2 separate regions of the Homo sapiens genome follow, and region 2 is linked to region 1. Evidence: promoter capture Hi-C in human tissues and cell types (Jung and others, 2019). All regions are on one chromosome and are shown on one strand. The core of a region is centred on a gene start or on the middle of the fragment in contact, and the rest is flanking DNA. Distances in the headings are between cores, read along the strand shown. Region 1 holds the start of IRX2 (iroquois homeobox 2). Region 2 has its middle 60 kb from the start of LINC01377.

Region 1 (3,567 bases), core at 516-3,015:
CTTCCCGCCGCAAAAGAGCAGGAAAAACGCAGTGTGATTCGGGACCAGCTGTTGATCACAAAAAGTACCGGAGTTTTATTCTCGAATTTCTGAACTATTTCACTTTCCTAAAATGACCCATCTTCCCCTAAGTGTTCCGGAGCCGCTCGTGGCAATGTACACAAACCCTTGCACGTGCGCGCACACAGGCCCACAGGTAGCTCTTTGATATCTAAATTTCTGCAGATGCTTGGAGTGCGGCTGCCTCCCCCTACTCCCTCTTCCCCTCCCTTATATGGTTAAAAAAACACCCCAGAGCCCCCAATTCACTATTCACTGCTCTAAAGCTGGGCAAATCCAATTTGCAACTCAGAAGCCAGTCACCGTTTCGAATTCTTCAAATACGCCGTAATTAGCATTTTAATTCATCCTTTAACGTTTAAATTCGAGGCATTTGCAGCCTTCGCCAAGGCCCCAGCGACTCGGTCGCTGCCCAGAAATTCCGCCGAGGGCCGGCAGTCGCGACAACCCCGTAATGGCCTCAATCGCCCGTAACGTGCTTCGCCGCGGCCCGGGCCTGGCCCAGCTCAGTAACCTCGAGACTCGCGAGCCGCCCCCAGGTCGCCGGAGCAGGAGCTGCGCTCGGGCCACGGAGGACTCAGGCGGCCCTTAGCGGGTCACGCGCCCGCAAGCACGATATTTGAAAGCATGGTCCGCTGGACAGAGTAAGGCCGAAACCTGGGCGCCTCGGGCCGGACTCCGGAGCCGCAGCTGAATGCTCGGCTCCTGGGCCTAACTCGGTGACCCCCACCGCCCTGAGCCCCGCGAGTGAATGCGAACCGCCCGGCCGTCGGCTCAGAGGCCGCAGTGACGCGGACCCTCGCGCCCCACGCCAATGCAGGCGAGCACACAGCCCGCTCCGAACGCCTCCCCAGGCTGCGGTGCGGAAACCAGGGACAAACGGCGCCAGACCCCGGCCCCGGCGGAGACGCACTTCCCAGGCTCTCAGAGAAAATCAGCCGGCGAGCCGAGGGGACGCGCGGGGGGCGCGCGGGTCCCGGCCGGGCTCAGGGACGTCCCCGCCTGCCGCGCTGCCCTCCCCACCCGGGGCCCGGCTCAGCCTGCGGGGCGGCCAACCGAGCCGGCGACTCCTGAGTCGCCAGCCGCGCCACATTCCCGGCGGCCCCCGCCCGCCGAACCCGAGCCCCGCTCCGCCTGAGCCCCGTCTGGGTCCCGGCGCCCAGGAGTCCCGCGTCCCGCCCGCGCCCGGTTACCATGTAGGACGGGAAGCCGGCGGCGGCGGCGGCGGCGTCGGCCGAGTACTGCAGCGGGCTCCCGAAGCCGGTGGCCGCCTGCGCCGTGAAGGCCGCCGAGCCCGGGTAGGGGCTGAACGCCGAGCCCGACGCCGAGCGCGCCAGCTCCTCGCTGCGCGGAGCCGCCAAAGCCGACGCGCCGTAGGCCGGGCACGAGTAGAGCGCCAGCGAGCCGGGCGCCTGGTACAGGTAGCCCTGCGGGTAGGACATGGTGGGCGCGGGGCGCGGGGCCCGCGTCACGCCGAGCAGCGGGCAGGGCGCGCGGCGCCCTCCATCCACGCCCGGCCGGGGCGCGGCGCGGCGGCGGGCACCCGGACGGCCGGCGGAGGCAGGCCGGCCCGGGTACTAGCCTGGGCGGCCCGCGGGCCGGGGCGGCGGCGGGGTGGCGGTGGCGGCGGCAGCAGCGCGGAGCCGGTGGGCGCAGCCGCGCGCCAGGCCGGCGGTCGGGGTTTGGGGGAGTCTGGAGTCGGGAGTGAGGAGTTGAGGAAGGAGCGCTCGAGTTTCCGAGGGACATTGGAACGCGCAGCTGTCCATCACGCGCTCATCTGCATATTCGGGGGCCCGCCCCTCCCCTGCTCCGCCCGCTGCAGCCTCCGGGCCGCGGCCGGGGGAGGGGCAGAGAGACGGGAGGGAGGCGGGGGAGGGCGGAGGCGACGGAGGCGGGCGGCGGGAGGGACCGGCAGGCTTTTGTGGCGCAGCCGCCTCTCTAGCAGCTCCGGCCCCAGCCCGCGGCTCGCGGACCTGCAGCCCAGCCCGGCCGCGCTGCGTGCCCCGGCGCGCACCCCTCCCACTCCCATCCACTCGGAGCCACGTCCCCTGCCCGGCTCCGGCCGGCTCCCACCGTCCCCGGCCACCGTCTTCGCCCCTGCCCGGCCCCCGCCCCTTCCAGCCACTACCCCGCCCCCACCCCCTTCTCCACCCTCACGGACTAGGCAGAGGCCGCCCGCGGTCAGGCCAGGCCGGGTCCAATTAGGGGACTCACAGCCTGCCCCGCTGTGCACCCCGAGGAGGCCCGGCCCCTGTGTCCAATCCGGAAGTCGCAGGGAAGTGGGGAGGTCAGGATGGTGGCGCCCGCGGCTCGGGTCTTCCTCCGGGCAGTGCGCGCGGCTCTCACTTCCACGGTCCCGGACCTGCTCTGCCTCCTGGCCCGAGGCTCCCCGCGTGGCCTCGCGTCTGGTCGCCTACCCCTCGCGGTCCACTCCGCCCAGCATGGACCTGGATCCGGGGCGCCTTGGTTGCGAATTGCCAGGAGGGCCCTGAGGTGAGCTTTCTGCCCCCAAATCCGCAGCGCAACCCCCGGGGCCCTGAACGTTACGACTTTCCACTGTTGGGAATGACGCCAGGGCTTCAGCTAAGAAGACGCCGTCCCCTAAAGAGTTTTATTTTATTTTGTTTTTCTAAGTTGACTCCTCTTTCAGATTTGTGTTGTCAAAACACTGGGGGGATGATTGTTACCTGACAAACCGCCTCTGGCAGGACCTGAAGCCTCCCAGTCACGTCGAGAACGGGCAGGAGCTCAGGTTGGCGCCGCCGGTGCAGTGGGCATTACAGGTAGCTCAGGTGACGCGCGGCTGGAGTAGGGGGGCGGTTGCCTTGCGGGGCTCAGAAGCGAGGCGGTTGGCGAGGGTTCCTAGGACCCCAGCTTCCTAGAACCCTCTCCCCATCACGCTTCTCCAACCCTTTTCCACTCGGGGATGGCCGAAGAGGGCGTCTGGCTGCCCACTCCGAAGGGTCACCTATGGGGGGCGCTCAGGGGGATGGAAGAGTGTCAGGTCTGTGCTGGCCTATTGGGAGCACCCACCCAGCAGGTGCCTCTATCCTCGGAAGCCGTCTCGGGTGGGTGCGGTGGAGAAGAGAGAGCGCAGTGGCCTGGGGCGGGCCTCAGCTCAGGCCTGCAGCCGACTCCTGCACCCCTGCTGGCCCTGCAGCCTGCGGAGCAGCCTTAGTGATCTCAGGACGCAGGGCATGTTGCGGCCTCCCTGTGGTGCGGCTGCAGCGGCGCGGAGGGAGCGGAGCCCGGGTTGCCAGTCTGGTCCAGGGCGCAAGAGAAACACTCACGGCATCAGGCTGTCTTTCCCCAGGTGCAAGGGAACCAGTTGCAAACTGCAGTGCTGTGCTTGAGGATGGCTCCTCCTGAGCCGGCAGGCTCCCGGTAGGCGCGGTCCAGGCACGTTACCCCTCCCGCCAGGAGCTCCCGAGCCGAGCCACTCGCCCCCTACCAGTTATCCCACCCACCCCTTCGCCCACACTGCTCCCCCACCACTCTTCCTACAAA
Region 2 (3,501 bases), core at 207-2,706, 370 kb after region 1:
TACTATTCAATTGGCTTTTTTCCTCTCTTTTTAACCCAAGAAAAGCTTGTTGTGACTTAACAAAAGAGAAGGCAGAAATACTACAAAAACACAATCTAGAAAAAGCCTTACGTGAAGCTCTTACATTCTTTTTTTTTTTAACTTTTAAATTTCATGTTGTAAATGTAACAGTCCTCCTAGAAATATGAGTGCACAATAGCGGGAGAAATGCCACTTTACATGTGTGTGCACCGAGATCACAATCAGACACTTGACATCTTAGGAGTTCAAGATTGCATCCTAAAATGCCATCTACCATATTATTATCTCTGCCATTTACATAATTTAGGTTTTTCTCCAGGACGGGAAAAACATGCTACATAGCATTCAATAGCATTTCCCAACCCTACTGCATCTCACCGATTTGTCTACTAAGGATGTATGAAGACATCTTCAAAATTGGTCCTCATGTTCATATATATATAATCACATATATATCTCATATATGTTCACAGGCATATCAAAGTGAACTTGCAGTATAGGGGCAAACATAATCTGTCCCGACTGCAGACAGCCTGAAAGCCATCGCCCTGGCATAGGAAACTAGAGGCTTCTGGTGGGGGGTCACTGCCCCGGAGAAGTCCTCTGGTCCGGTCCACGGTGCTCCCTGCTTCCCCCTGCACTGCCCGCACCTACGGCAGCCACAGTCTCCCCAAAACTCTTGTGATGGCTCCACAAGGCATGCCCTGCCCTTATGATACCATTTAATCGTGTTATAAGGCGGCCTGGCGCGAGCTTGTCGCGAGGGCAGATTGCGCGGCCCGTATAGATTTGCTGTCATCCTGTAGGCTTCCCACACAAGACAGAGGCCTGGTGACGCACAGCGGGAACCCGGGGCTTGCAGGGTTAAGTACTCCCTGCCTCCTGGCTGGGGGTTCCACTAGCATCCGCAGGCGGGCGGGACTGGGCCCCATCCCTCACAGTGCCGATGACACGATGGATCTCGCCTGTCACTGTCATTACAGTCAGCTTCACTCCACCGCCGATAAGAAGGCCACTCCCCTAAGCACGGAGAAGGCAGATATTTTTCTACCTAATTTTAGGGAAAGAGCTCTTACAGGTGTCCTTTCAGCAGGATTTGAGATGTCTCACTCTGATCGCACATCCAGGAGGCAGAAGACTCCTATCACTCCATAAATTAATTTCAGTCCTTTAGACTGGAAATATACTATCTGTGCATTTTATTGGAAAACACCAACACTTCTAAAAGGCAGCCTTTCAAATTTTGAAGCGTGGAGGTAAAACTTTTAGAGTGTAGCCTTTTGGAGGTATTTATGAAACCTTAAATATGCTCACACACTCATTCTGGACGGTATCTTGAAAATTGCTTCATTTGTTTTGTTCGGTGATCAAAACAGCCAGGCATTCTTTTAGAATGAGCAGCAGGGGAAAGCATTGAAGTTATCTCAGCAGGATTGAATCTAACTTTTATCGTGTTGAGACTCATGTGCAAACTACAGTGTTTGTCTCACCTATGACACTGTCAGGGAGAGGGCAGGGTAATTGATCCCCCCCCAAATGTGGAGTGCAATAAGGATGTCTTATTCCCTACATACAAAAGGGAACTTCTTGTGATGGCTGTGTTAACAGGAGCCTATGCCGTGGCTGAGTGTAGGGATAGTGTGGAAAATGCAGTGGAGAGCCACCTCCTAGGGCTGGAGATGCCAACATCACACTAGTAAGTCCCTGTCATTCTGCATCATCAATGCTGTCTAAGGGAAGGAGGAATGTTTATTTTCTGCACGTCGCTGCACTTCCAAAAGATACAGTTTTCAGCATGTGCTTCTGAATGCTTTCTTTAAAAATTCAAATATTTTTGCAAGTCAGCTGGGAGTAAGGAGTGAGATCTGGGCTGTTAGAGCTATCAGAGAGAGGGAGCGAGAGAGAGAGAGAGAGAGAGAGAGAGAGAGAGAGAGAGAGAGAGAGAGAGAGAGAGGGAGAGAGAGAGACCCATTAAACTTCCCCAGAGTTTACTGATTACCCCATCACTTAAAGACAACAACAAAAATTGTTCTACCAATGTTTCCAACAAGCTTCGTTTTGAAGTTTTAATCAGGTCTAAATGGAAAGTGATTGAGAATGGCGTGGTCTGCATTTTAATCCCTGGAAACGCTCCCCGCCCCCAAGTCTTTGGCTGTGTGGCGTGTAGTGTGGCCTTGGGTTTCTGAGTGTTTCTAACATACATAATGAGCTCAATGTCAAGCTGTTGGATCTTTTGTCTTTAACAATAAGCATTTAGCTCAACTAAATGAATAGAAATTGCTTTAGTGAATTACAAAAGCCAAGGTCTTTTTAATGCACCAATGATGACATTAATTATTTTCGACATTGTCTTATTTTTGCAAATGTATTAACTTAAAATTTGACTTAAAATGTAATAAATTCATTTACTGTTCCAATTAAAAATGTGAAACATTCTTAGTAAATCAAAATGTCTGCTGATGGCGATGACAATCCTCCCGATAAAAAATAAACAGTCTGAGTGCATCACCGAATTCATGATTCATGTGATTACGAATCTAACATAGCATCAGCACTGTCTACTTTTCCCTGTTTGAAAAGCAGTTAGGTGGCCAAGTTATAATGGGCCCCCAGCACTGCTGTGCTTCCTAAAGGGAGCTTGCCCATGGTAGGACCAGTTTCCCAACACTGCCAAACAACGGGGCCAATTTCCCTGCAAAGAGAGACCAGCATTCAAAAAGTTGCAGTGATCCGTCCTCCAGCACCCCCTCCACCCTCCTTCTGCAGTTGCCCGGAGAGATCTGAATGTCTTTTCCTAAATCTCTGTAATCCAATAAGCTTTTGTGTTTAGCAGCTTGTTTTGAAGGCTGTGCGGCACCCCAACCCAGGTCTCCGCAAGGCCCTCGGCAGGCAGGTGAGCGCCCCGGGGCCTGAGCGCTACGCCGGGCGAGAGGCCCGCGCAGCCCCAACCAGAACGTAATTTGTAATTAACTGTCATTTACTTCTGTCTGCATTGACTTGTTGTTCAAAAGACAATGCAACTGGGCTGGTCACTCATTTCCCTTTGTTGTGGATATAATGTCTCTGAGATCTGGTTGTTTTCATAATGTTTAGAAACTCAGGGCTTACTCTCTTGAAACCAGAAGGAGAAGGGGAATTCGCTGAAATAAATCCAACACAAATAATTTGTTATGCCGAGGTACATCAAACATTCTATTTGATGAAATGGGATAAACCATCTTACAGAAGAACCACATACAGTTTAAGCCAGATAATTCAAATGACTGGAGTGAGTGTTCTCCCGAAGCACATCTTTTAAAATGCAGTCTTCAAAAGGCGATCTGTTCTGTAGCTGTAGACTCTAATTTATGCTCTCTTTTCAGTTTAATTATTTGCTTGTCACACTTTTCATTAGCAGAAAAATAAACAGAATGTGTGATAGGCCTTGGATTGGGGGTCCGTGTTTCCAAGATTGACAAGTAATTCCAAGTTTAACTACTT

The links. Contacts are between HindIII fragments. The study calls those that stand out against the background at their distance.
Region 2: a fragment that was not itself captured here is called in contact with the fragment with the promoter of IRX2 in region 1 in 1 of the 25 tissues and cell types used here (H1 embryonic stem cells).

Annotation. Positions count from the first base shown.
Region 1 is chr5:2,749,912-2,753,478 of GRCh38, forward strand. It overlaps IRX2 (iroquois homeobox 2), which reads right to left and starts at 1,766. Exons shown (of 4, transcript NM_033267.5): 1 at 1,254-1,766. The coding sequence starts at 1,502. IRX2-DT (IRX2 divergent transcript) reads left to right here and starts at 1,982. Exons shown (of 4, transcript NR_122126.2): 1 at 1,982-2,553; 2 at 2,769-2,843; 3 at 3,374-3,444. RefSeq lists an enhancer at 1,881-2,805. The HindIII fragment of the contact is 21,259 bases long and covers 1-3,567 here.
Region 2 is chr5:3,115,713-3,119,213 of GRCh38, forward strand. No RefSeq gene overlaps it. Among named protein-coding and RNA genes, the nearest start is that of LINC01377, 60 kb to the right of the region's middle. The HindIII fragment of the contact is 3,440 bases long and covers 1-3,176 here.